Regions from separate parts of the Homo sapiens genome. Here region 1 is linked to region 2. Evidence: promoter capture Hi-C in human tissues and cell types (Jung and others, 2019). All regions are on one chromosome and are shown on one strand. The core of a region is centred on a gene start or on the middle of the fragment in contact, and the rest is flanking DNA. Distances in the headings are between cores, read along the strand shown. Region 1 overlaps HACD1 (3-hydroxyacyl-CoA dehydratase 1). Region 2 holds the start of VIM (vimentin).

Region 1 (5,759 bases), core at 1,588-4,087, 370 kb after region 2:
ACCAATGAACCTTATCACAAAACAAGCTTTGAATATCCTGCTTAGGCAACTTTGGATAAAAAGTCTTTCTATTTAGGTTCTTCCTAACTTAAGAAAGGTTACCATCACATTATATATACCTAGGGGGCTAAATTTACTCAGGTCATAATTACTTAAACTCACTGACCAATTATTGTAAATACTTCCATAAAATTCCGAGTAGCTGAACAGAAGGTATGGGCTTGAGTTCAAACCCTGCCTTAACTCACCAGCTACTGATTTTTTTTTTTTTTTTTTTTTTTGAGATGGAGTCTCACTCTGTCACTCAGGCTGGAGTGCAGTGGTGTAATCTTGGCTCACTGCAACCTCTGCCTCCCCGGTTTCAGTGATTTTCCTGCATCAGCCTCCTGAGTAGCTGGGACTACAGGTGCCCACTACCATGTCTGGCTAATTTTTGTATTTTTAGTAGAGACGGGGTTTCACCATGGTGGTCAGGCTGGTCTTGAACTCCTGACCTCAAGCAATCCTCCCACCTTGGCCTCCCAAAGTGCTGCGATTACAGGTGTGAGCCACCACACCAGGCCACAAGCTAGTGATTTTTAAGCAACTCACTTAACCTCTTTCATCTTAATGTAAATGAGAAATAATACTACTACTTTTGAATACTAAGTACTCAAAAAGTACTTTTAATTAGCAAAGGATTTAATAAGTAAAATTAATTGATTTATTACTAACATTAAGAATGCAGGGGGAGGAGGGAATTAAAAAAAAATGCAGTGGAAAACATGTTCTGGGCTGAGTGATTCTCTGGCCAGTGGGACTCAGTAGCTGGCAGCATGGTGAACTGGGAAGCTGCTACTGGTACAGGCCAGAGTCTACATCTCCCAGGACAACTGAAAAAGGTGCTTCAGGCTCTCCATTTCCATGGAGATGCCTCAAAAGCCATGAGGAGGAAGAGAACCCACTGTTTGAACCTGTAACTGTCAGACAGACACCGAAGCAAGCTCTGGTTCTGTTCAAGTAATGCTACCATTAACCTGCCATTGGGAAAAGAGAGGGATGTGAACCAATAGAGTAGGCATCCCCTCCTTAGCTCTCCCGAACTGGCTGGGGTAGAAAATCAGATACAGAATCAGGCTGAAGTGGTAGAAGACAAGGGGAAAACATATCTTTCACCACTAAGTCAATTTTGACTTTGGGAAAGATACAAGTTGGAGACATCTGCCGGGGGCAGGGGCTCATGCCTGTAATCCCAGCACTTTGGGAGACCAAGGTGGGTGGATCCCTTGAGGTCAGGAGTTTGAGACCAGCCTGGCCAATATGGTGAAACCTCGTCTCTACTAAAAATACAAAAATTAGGTGGGCACTGTGGCAGGCGCTTGTAATCCCATGAACCTGAGAGGCAGCGATTGGAGTGAGCTGAGATGGCGCCACTGCACTCCAGCCTGGGCAAAAGCGCAAGACTCTGTCTCAAAAAAAACAACAAAAAAAAGTTGGAGACCTCAAGGGGCTGGCCAAGTTTTATGCGCATCTCCTTTAGATGAAATAATTTGTATCATGTCGATGTAGATTTTAGAGCTATCAATATTTGACTTAAAAATATATCACTATTAGCCCCCACGCCTTTTTTTTTTTGAGACAGAGTCTCACTCTTATTGCCCAGGCTGGAATGCAATGGCATCATGTCAGTTCACTGCAACTTCTGCCTCTCAGGTTCAAACGATTCTCCTGCCTCAGCCTCCTGAGTAGCTGAGATTACAGGCATGCGCCACCATGCCCAGTTAATTTCTGTATTTTAGTAGAGACAGGGTTTTGCCATGTTGGCCAGCCTGGTCTCGAACTCCTGACCTCAGGTGATCCACCTGCCTCGGCCTCCCAAAGTGCTGGGATTATAGGCATGAGCCACGGAGCCCTGCCTCACTATTAGCAGCACTGAAATGGAGTAAAGCCTTACCAATTCACTTCAACTGCTGAAAGATGATGAGAAATTAGTGAAGAGGCTGACTTATTCAAAATCCTTTAAGAAAAGAGGCTTTATTATTTGCAAGTACATAGAGCAACACAAATAAGACTCAAAACTACTCCTAGATGATTTTTCCAAGTATATGCTTAATGAATAGATAGAAATGATCTGAAATTTTCTTGGACACAGTGTTTATACTCAGACATATAATTCTAAATGCTTGTAAAAAGTGCACTAATGCTTTAAACATGATTTGTTTTTATCTTTCTTTAAAAAAATCATACTAAGCTGATGTTTAAATGATTTTGAGAAAGCAATAATCCATGCGTTAATTTACCTGCCTTTATTCTCATAGCTAATGAACTGTCTTCTGCCTCTATCTCCCTTCACTTTTCCCAAATTATCAGTAAATATGGAGTTAAACCGAAGTTTTAATGTATTTGTAAGCAATTATTTCTAATTATTTCCCCTTGCATATTATTATATCCTTTCAAAAATTTCCACATCATATGTCAAATCAAAGTACTAATAAGTATATACTTACAAGGTATATATGATGCCATGGTTATAAGAAGAAAATAATAGTAGTCAAAAGAGACATTGTATTTGTTAGGAAGTCTTATTGAAAACATTCCTGTTTTCTTCACATGCGGCAAGGCAGCGTATATTGTAAGAAGTTCACCAGCAACTCCAACAGGATATAAGATGATAAAAAAATTATATCTGGAGAAAGAAAAACCTCAGAGAATTATTTTTCTACAATAATTATTAGACTTTACATTGCAGGTCTATTGCTACTACTAAATTTAAACTTCAAAATTCTCTTTTCTTTACATATTTACAATAACCTTACGTAAGGTTAATAGTTCTACTTTAATCATTTGCTTATTGATTATCATCCTTTTTTTCCTAATACCAGTTTCCATAATAGGCAATGTCTTTTTAATAAAATAGTATCAACTTATTTTAGAGTACCAAAATACTTTTATGTATTAAAAAATGTATATGTAGTTTTTCTTGTTTTTGTTTTGAGATGGAGTTCGCTCTTGTCACCAGGCTGGAGTGCAGCGGCACAGTCTTGGCTCACTGCAACCTCCACCTCCTGGGTTCAAGTAATTCTCCTGCCTCAGCCTCCCAAGTAGCTGGGATTACAGGTGTGTGCCACCATACCCAGCTAATTTTTGGTGTTTTTTTTTTTTGTTTTTTGTTTTTTTTTGAGATGGAGTCTTACTCTGTCGCCTAGACTGGAGTGCAGTGGCACAATCTTGGGTCACTGCAACCTCCACCTCCCGGGTTCAAGCAATTCTCCTGCCTCAGCCTCCTGGGTAGCTGGGACTACAGGCGCCCGCCACCACGCCCGGTTAATTTTTGTATTTTTAGTAGAGACAGGGTTTCACCATGTTGGTCAGGCTGGTCTTGAACTCCTGCCTTCAGGTGATCCACCCGCCTCAGCCTCCCAAAGTGCTGGGATTACAGACATGAGCCACCATGCCCGGCCTATGTAGCTTTAAAAAAAGTATTGTAATGGTAACTTCTTTGGTGCATAAAATCACAAATGACTGCTTTTGTCCGCGGCAGCTAGTAATTTATTGATCAAACACTGCGTTTAAAAAGACCAGTGATTATCCTAAATTTTATATCTAAACCTTGAAATTACCAAGGTAGTTATTTTTAAGAGGCATTTGAAAAAGTCTTTGTGGTTACTAATGAAAACCAATTATTGCAGAAAACTGATAATACCACCTGAAGCATGAGTAGCTACTAATGAGTATATTATATTGTCTAAAACTGCTACCGTAACAAAATAAATTGACAAGTTAGTTCCTGAATTCCCACATTAAAAGAAGAGTGAGCTTGTTTAAAGTAGAGTTAAGAAAGTTCTACTCTAAATCCAAAGTCATCATGTGTTCATTTGGTCTGTGGCAAGGTCTGGAACACACAGTAGGCCAGGCATCCTGTATGCTTCCAATTAGGAAACACTCTGTGTTCTACTGGCTGGTCTCCAATAAGAGGGGCCTAAAGGATCCAAGATGATCATATTTCTTCATTAAAAAAAAAAATCATTTTTCTCTGACTCAGTCACTATATAACAGTTACCACAGAAAACTTAAGAGGCCAGAGTGCAAGACCACTCTGGGCGATATAGTAAGACCCCGTCTCACAAAAAAAAATTTAATGAGCAGACCACAGTGGTGCATGCCTGTCGCCCCAGCTACTTGGGAGGCTAAGGCAGGAGGATTGCTTGAGCCTAGGAGGTCAAGGGGGCAGTGAGCCAAGACCGCACCACTGTACTCCAGCCTGGGTGACACAGCGAGACCCTGTCTCAAAAAAAATAAATTTAATTTAAAAAAAGAAAAATGTTTTTAATTTAAAACAAAAGGTCAACATTTTGATGGAAAAAGAAATCAAATTAATCTGTATTTTATTTAATCATTTTGTTGGCATTAGGAAATATCTATAAAGAAAAGTCAAAGTTGTCAGTATTGAAGAAGCTTGGAGACAAATTAAAAATTGCATTATTCCTGTATGTCAAGGATATGCGAAGATAAGAGATGGGGAGAAGGGCAGAATTATTTGCCAAAATAGATGAGCTATTCAAGAAAGAAGAATGATTCCTTCACTGTACCTGTTAATCCCTTCTTGGCCTTGGAGAAACTCCCTGCTTTCTTACCAGTTTTGGGTAGTTATTTGTGTATCATTTAAATCAATCTTTCCCTATTCCTCAATTTATTAAATCCCATAACTGGACATTTTATATACCTGTCTCAGTAAAATACCCAAACTGATTAAGTTGCAATTTTTACTTTATGTGGTTTTCAAAAGATTTTTTTTTTTTTTGGCAGGATTGTTCTTCAATAGAAGAAAAAATTAACACTCCTACAATAAGCTAGTTGAAAGTCTTAAGGGCAATGAAAATTTCTAATGAAATGGGAACAAATTATATAATTTGACTTTACTTGCACTTCAAAAAGATTGCATGTTACTACTTCTCTAAGTTCTGAGGGCAGTATGGGAGATTTAACTATGGATAGACCACATTAAAAAAAAAGATACAATGCTTCTTTGAAGGTTCCCAATTACTATCTAAAATTTTTTTGAAGGGAGTGCATTTTAAATCAATATGAAAAACCTAACTTAATATATACAATTACCTATTCTGAGGACTTTTCCAAGAACACTTATGACACATAAATAGAATCAAAGTATATTCAAACTGTAACAATAGGCCAAACTACTTATAACTAAGAAGCCATTTCTAAAGTGTAGTTTTATTCGAGAATGACAGCTTCAACATCTGAACATAAATACAAATATTATTTTACCTTACTTAATGGAGTTGGGAAACATATTTAGATGGCTGGGATTTTTAAGATCTTTTTGACATGAAACATAATTATTTATGATTATGATCAACTGACAAAGTATTATGTAACATATGATTTCAAAGCTGAAAGACTGTATAACTTGTTTAACATTAAGGCAATGGATAAACACTTTCTTCTTTTGAGACAGAGTCACGCTGTGTCACCAAGCTGGAGTGCAGTGGTGTGATCTCAGATCACTGCAACCTCCACCTCCTAGTTCAAGCAATTCTCCTGCCTCGGCCTCCCAAGTAGCTGGGATTACAGGCACATGTGGCTAATTTTTTAATTTTTTAGTAGAGATGGGGTTTCACCATGTTGGCCAGGCTGATCTGGAACTCCTGACCTCAAGTGATCCGCCCACCTTGGCCTCCCAAAGTGTTGGGATTACAGGCATGAGCCACCACGCCCAGCCTGCAATGGATAAACACTTTCTAAACAGCAAATTTAAACAT
Region 2 (6,065 bases), core at 3,566-6,065:
TACTAAGAAACATTGCAGGCAGTGCAAAAAAATATGAATACATCTATCTGTTAAATGGAATATGAGGAAAGACCTGAGGGTGGGGGAAATGTACTATATTCATGGAAGAAGAAGGAGCTTAGGGTTCTACTGAAATTGCTGCTTGTGGGGAACAGTGGAAAATGAGGATAGATATATATACTTGACATAACTTCCAAAGGCCACTAGTTAACTATGATCCTCAACCTCCTCTGCAGGAAAATTTCTGTTTCCCTCATAGTCTTTATCACCAGTTGCAATCATTTTGTTTGTTCCTTTACGAGTATTGTCTCTCTGTATCATATACATATACGCAGACTCAACACTATGTTCCAAGAGGCTTTGGGCCATACCTGCTTTGGTCCCTTCCCCAGTGTCTACCAGACTGCCCGGCACATGGCAAATACTCAATAAGTATGTTTGGAGTAAAAGAATAAAAGTTGTGTATCACGATACCTTGTGAAGATTAAATGCAGTCATGTCTAAAGTGACTAGCACAATGCTTAAACATAATAAGCACCAGTAAATATTAGCCCCACACCTATATTTCTTCCTTCTATGAACTACTCATGTATTAATGTATATATTCGACAGATGTGCCTGGCTTTTCTCTAGCCACTGGAAATACAATAGTCAACAAAAGAGAGAAAAATTCCTACCTGCCCTTAGGGAGATTACATTCCAGTGAGGAAATGAGCAATTCCTGCCAAGAAGTTTAAAGAAGGAAGTTTTTGGCCAAATGTGGAGGCTCACACATTTAATCCCAACATTTTGGGAGGCCAGTGCTGGAGGATTGCTTGAGCCCAGGAGTTCAAGACCAGCTTGGGCAACATAGCAAGACCCTGGCTCTACAAAAAATAAAAAGTTAGCTGGGCATGGATGGCACTCCCAGCTTCTAGGGAGGCTGAGGCAGTAGGAATACTTGAGCTCAAGAGTTAAGAGGCTGCAGTGAGCTATGACTGCGCCACCGCACTCCAGCCTAGGCAACAGAGCAAGCCTTTGTCTCTCTCTCTCTCTCTCTCTCTCTCTATATATATATATATAAGTTTTAAAGAAAAAGGGGTGATGGCTTGAAGATAGATGCATTGGTGGCAGAAAAGAAAGCATGGAGGGGCCGGGCGCAGCGGCTCACACCTGTAATCCCAGCACTTCGGGAGGCCAAGGCGGGTGGATCACGAGGTCAGGAGATTGAGACCATCCTGGCTAACACGGTGAAACCCCGTCTCTACTAAAAAAATACAAAAACTTAGCCGGGCTTGGTGGCGGGCGCCTTTGGTCCCAGCTACTGGGAAGGCTGAGGCAGGAGAATGGCGTGAACCTGGGAAGCGGAGCTTGCAGTGAGCCGAGATCGCGCCACTGCACTGCAGCCCCGGGGGACAGAGCGAGACCCCGTCTCAAAAAAAAAAAAAAAAAGAAAAGAAAGAAAGCAAGAAAGCATGGAGGAACGGAAGCCAATTGCAGTATTGCAGGAAGGAGGTATGAAATGGCTTGGATCTGAGTGACAGCAACGTAACAGAGGAGTGGATCCAGGAAGAGCGGGGCATGATACCCATTGGATCTGAGATGGAAGAGTTAGTTAGGAAGTGGCAATGATGAAAGTTTCCAATCTTGTTGTTTTGCTGTATTGCCCTGAATAGACAGGGAAGCTGGCAGGGGAAGCGATGGTGGTTCATGGGCTTTAGGGCGTGAGACGAGCTAAACCCAGTCTTGAATGTGATTCCTCCTAAGAGGCAAAATGGAATCTAAATGAAAATTTTTAACTCACTAATGAAAGTAATGTTTTAGAATGCAGGTGAAAACAAATCTCCCTTCTTACATAGTATGATCACTGTTACGTCATTTGATTTTGTTTTTTACATCATTTTACATCGTAAACATGGTGTTATAGCTGTCTGCCAAATTCCTCTAAAAATATGCCCCTTCGCAGCAAGATCTGTGTTAATCATCCCATCTCTTCAGTTCCTGGAACACAGTAGGTCCCTAAATGATAAGTCCAGCACTTAATATTTGTGAATTGAACTGGTTGATAGTAAGCAAAATTTTGTTATCAAGGCAAACAGAAAAGAGAAGTGCATTTAGAGTCAGAAAGGCCTCGATTCAAATTCTTGTCCCCTTCTTCCCACCCCTGCTAGTCATACAACCACAAGAAAATTGCTAGCCTGCATCTTAGGCTCCTCATTAGTGAAATGGATGATCAAGTCTATCTTGCAGGAGGGTGTGAGTGCATCAAGTTAAATTAAATATATACACAGTGTCTGTCATTCAGTTGGCATCGACATTACCTATTATACTATTTATTATTATTACCTGTATTTCCATGGATTTTAGGTTTTGCTATGGTTTTCATGCTCTCAGTGTACCCTCCTTCTTCTTTCTAACATTCCATCCAAACAGTCCTGCTAGATGCTGTTCTCTTGGCATGGCTAGCCAGCTTTCCCAAAGCCTCCATAGGCCACTAAGCTTCTGTCCACACGGCTGGCTGGTCCGTCAGTTTAAGTCACCCAATTCAACTGACATCATGACAGCTTGCAAATTCCAAAATCACTGTTGGTAATTTAGATGTGGTAGTGTTTATGCCTGGCCTATGAATTATACCACCACGTCTTTATTTATATGCAACTTGCATCATGCTGTGTTGAAAGCAGCTTCCCAGTCCAGCACTTGAAAATACTTCTCAGATAGGTTTTCATAGCAATTAAAAAATAAACACAAAACCCGGGAAAGCTATGTCTGTGTACCCAAAAGATACCTAAGAACACAGTAGCATAGAGAGCAGGCTGAGTTGTCTCACTCAAGGATGTGAGTTCAGATTCATTGATCTCCCTGACTGAAAACTATCACCCATTGATTGAGGCACTGTATATCTTATCTCAGAATGAAATGAATTCTTAAGTCTCATGAATTCTACATGAATGAATGAAAGTGTTTCTGCAACTTTCACTTCTCTTGCAGCCCACCAAAAACAATGGCATTTTCTAATAGGAAAAACACATTGAACGCTGTATATGTGCGTATGTATATGTGTGTGTAGTACATACATATACTTTATTTTGAGACAGGTTCTCACTCTGTTGCACAGGGTGGAGTGCAGTGGTGTGCACAGCCTACTGCAGCCTCAATTTCCCAGGCTCAAGCAATCCCCCTGCCTTAGTCTCCCAAGTAGCTGGGACCACAGGTGTGCACCATCACGCCTGGCTTTTTTTGGTTTCATATATATATGTTGCCTAAGCTGGTCTCAAACTCCTGATCTCAAGCAATCCTCCTGCTTTGGCCTCCCAAAGTGCTGGGACTACAGAACACCTACACTTTTATACATTCTATATGCATCAAACAAACATATGTCTGTGACAAGAGAGCAGCCTATCACAGCCCAGAGACTTCAGAATGGGGACAGGTTGGAAGGAGGAGCTACCTATCCCTGAGATGATGAAGAGGACCAGTGCCCATTCCAGGAGACATCACCGCAGCCCTGAGGAATCGGCTATGGGCACCAGCAGGGCACAGTGCCACACCTCGCCAATGCCTTGTCCTCCTTTTCCATAGTGAGTCAGTCAGCAAGCGTCGCATTGCCCTGGGATCGGCACTGCACGTAGAAGTGAGTTCCACACTCTCTTCCTCCCATAGGGAGATCACTTTTCTCATTCTAAGGGTTCCAGGCACACTCACAATGGTGGCATTTGCTGAGCAGTGGCTTGAATAAAGGGCTCTCAGAAAGCAAGATGTAACTCAGAGCATAGGCTTGTCCTCCAGGGCACCCAGCCCCAGGAATGCTCTTGGGGAATGACCTGCAGCCTCCCAGTGAAAGAGAGAATAAAAGAAAGCCCCAGCAGGCGAGCTGGGCAGTAGAGAGTCCTGTAATTCCACCTTGGCAAGCACCATTTGCAAGAACGAACTGGGATAAGGTAAACAAAATATTGCCTAAAAGAGGCTTGTCCAAAGAAGTCAGAATACGCTCTTCATTTACCTCTAAATTATGTTTCTTAAATACCAAGTAACCTGCAGTACCCCCTGCCGCCACCAAAAAAAAAGAGAGAAATACTTTTTTTTCTCCTATCCACTGCAGAATCAATTTTACAGTGGTTCTGCAGTTAATCCTTTCAGTACACCATAAATCTAAATACTCAAAAAAACCTGTGCCTTTTCAATTGCTACTAAATCACGAGAAGACTGATTTACATAGTCTCCTTTTATCTCCCTTGGCGGGTAAGTACTCAGCTCTGCTCGTTACTAATATTGAAACAACAGCCCTTGAATTGAGTGATTTCCCTAGAAAGGTTAAGGTGACCGAATCTGAACACTCCCTCCATGTCTTGGACACGAAGTTTTTTGCTGCGTAGACAGTTTTATCCCCCTCACCCCAAGGTCAATTGCACGAATTCTTTTGGAAAACAGGACCTATGGCATTTCCCAGACAAATCACCGTGAACCCTGTACTGTGCATTGCTGTCCTAAAATTAACACATAAATCTATTGCCGCCAAAGATTCTGTCATTTGTGTTACATAATTGCCTTTCATTTGAACTCATTAATCAAATTGGGGTTTTTAAGCAACACCTAATTAATTCTTTAACTGGCTCATATTATACCTTTAATGACTTCCACCAGGGTAAAAACCACTGATCACTGAGTTCTATTTTGAAACTACGGACGTCGAGTTTCCTCTTTCACCCAGAATTTTCAGATCTTGTTTAAAAAGTTGGGTGTGGTTTCATGGGGGGAGGGGGAAGAGCGAGAGGAGACCAGAGGGACGGGGGCGGGGACTCTGCAAGAAAAACCTTCCCGGTGCAATCGTGATCTGGGAGGCCCACGTATGGCGCCTCTCCAAAGGCTGCAGAAGTTTCTTGCTAACAAAAAGTCCGCACATTCGAGCAAAGACAGGCTTTAGCGAGTTATTAAAAACTTAGGGGCGCTCTTGTCCCCCACAGGGCCCGACCGCACACAGCAAGGCGATGGCCCAGCTGTAAGTTGGTAGCACTGAGAACTAGCAGCGCGCGCGGAGCCCGCTGAGACTTGAATCAATCTGGTCTAACGGTTTCCCCTAAACCGCTAGGAGCCCTCAATCGGCGGGACAGCAGGGCGCGGTGAGTCACCGCCGGTGACTAAGCGACCCCACCCCTCTCCCTCGGGCTTTCCTCTGCCACCGCCGTCTCGCAACTCCCGCCGTCCGAAGCTGGACTGAGCCCGTTAGGTCCCTCGACAGAACCTCCCCTCCCCCCAACATCTCTCCGCCAAGGCAAGTCGATGGACAGAGGCGCGGGCCGGAGCAGCCCCCCTTTCCAAGCGGGCGGCGCGCGAGGCTGCGGCGAGGCCTGAGCCCTGCGTTCCTGCGCTGTGCGCGCCCCCACCCCGCGTTCCAATCTCAGGCGCTCTTTGTTTCTTTCTCCGCGACTTCAGATCTGAGGGATTCCTTACTCTTTCCTCTTCCCGCTCCTTTGCCCGCGGGTCTCCCCGCCTGACCGCAGCCCCGAGACCGCCGCGCACCTCCTCCCACGCCCCTTTGGCGTGGTGCCACCGGACCCCTCTGGTTCAGTCCCAGGCGGACCCCCCCCTCACCGCGCGACCCCGCCTTTTTCAGCACCCCAGGGTGAGCCCAGCTCAGACTATCATCCGGAAAGCCCCCAAAAGTCCCAGCCCAGCGCTGAAGTAACGGGACCATGCCCAGTCCCAGGCCCCGGAGCAGGAAGGCTCGAGGGCGCCCCCACCCCACCCGCCCACCCTCCCCGCTTCTCGCTAGGTCCCTATTGGCTGGCGCGCTCCGCGGCTGGGATGGCAGTGGGAGGGGACCCTCTTTCCTAACGGGGTTATAAAAACAGCGCCCTCGGCGGGGTCCAGTCCTCTGCCACTCTCGCTCCGAGGTCCCCGCGCCAGAGACGCAGCCGCGCTCCCACCACCCACACCCACCGCGCCCTCGTTCGCCTCTTCTCCGGGAGCCAGTCCGCGCCACCGCCGCCGCCCAGGCCATCGCCACCCTCCGCAGCCATGTCCACCAGGTCCGTGTCCTCGTCCTCCTACCGCAGGATGTTCGGCGGCCCGGGCACCGCGAGCCG

What was found. Contacts are between HindIII fragments. The study calls those that stand out against the background at their distance.
Region 1: a contact is called between a fragment that was not itself captured here and the fragment with the promoter of VIM in region 2, in 1 of the 25 tissues and cell types used here (H1 embryonic stem cells).

The regions. Positions count from the first base shown.
Region 1 is chr10:17,591,719-17,597,477 of GRCh38, forward strand. It overlaps HACD1 (3-hydroxyacyl-CoA dehydratase 1), which reads right to left. Exons shown (of 7, transcript NM_014241.4): 6 at 2,487-2,665. Among named protein-coding and RNA genes, the nearest start is that of HACD1, 23 kb to the right of the region's middle. The HindIII fragment of the contact is 6,159 bases long and covers 1-5,759 here.
Region 2 is chr10:17,223,426-17,229,490 of GRCh38, forward strand. It overlaps VIM (vimentin), which reads left to right and starts at 4,816. Exons shown (of 10, transcript NM_003380.5): 1 at 4,816-5,099; 2 at 5,851-6,065. The coding sequence starts at 5,998. It overlaps VIM-AS1 (VIM antisense RNA 1), which reads right to left. Exons shown (of 3, transcript NR_108061.1): 1 at 5,920-6,065. RefSeq lists a silencer at 3,295-3,509. The HindIII fragment of the contact is 8,806 bases long and covers 1-6,065 here.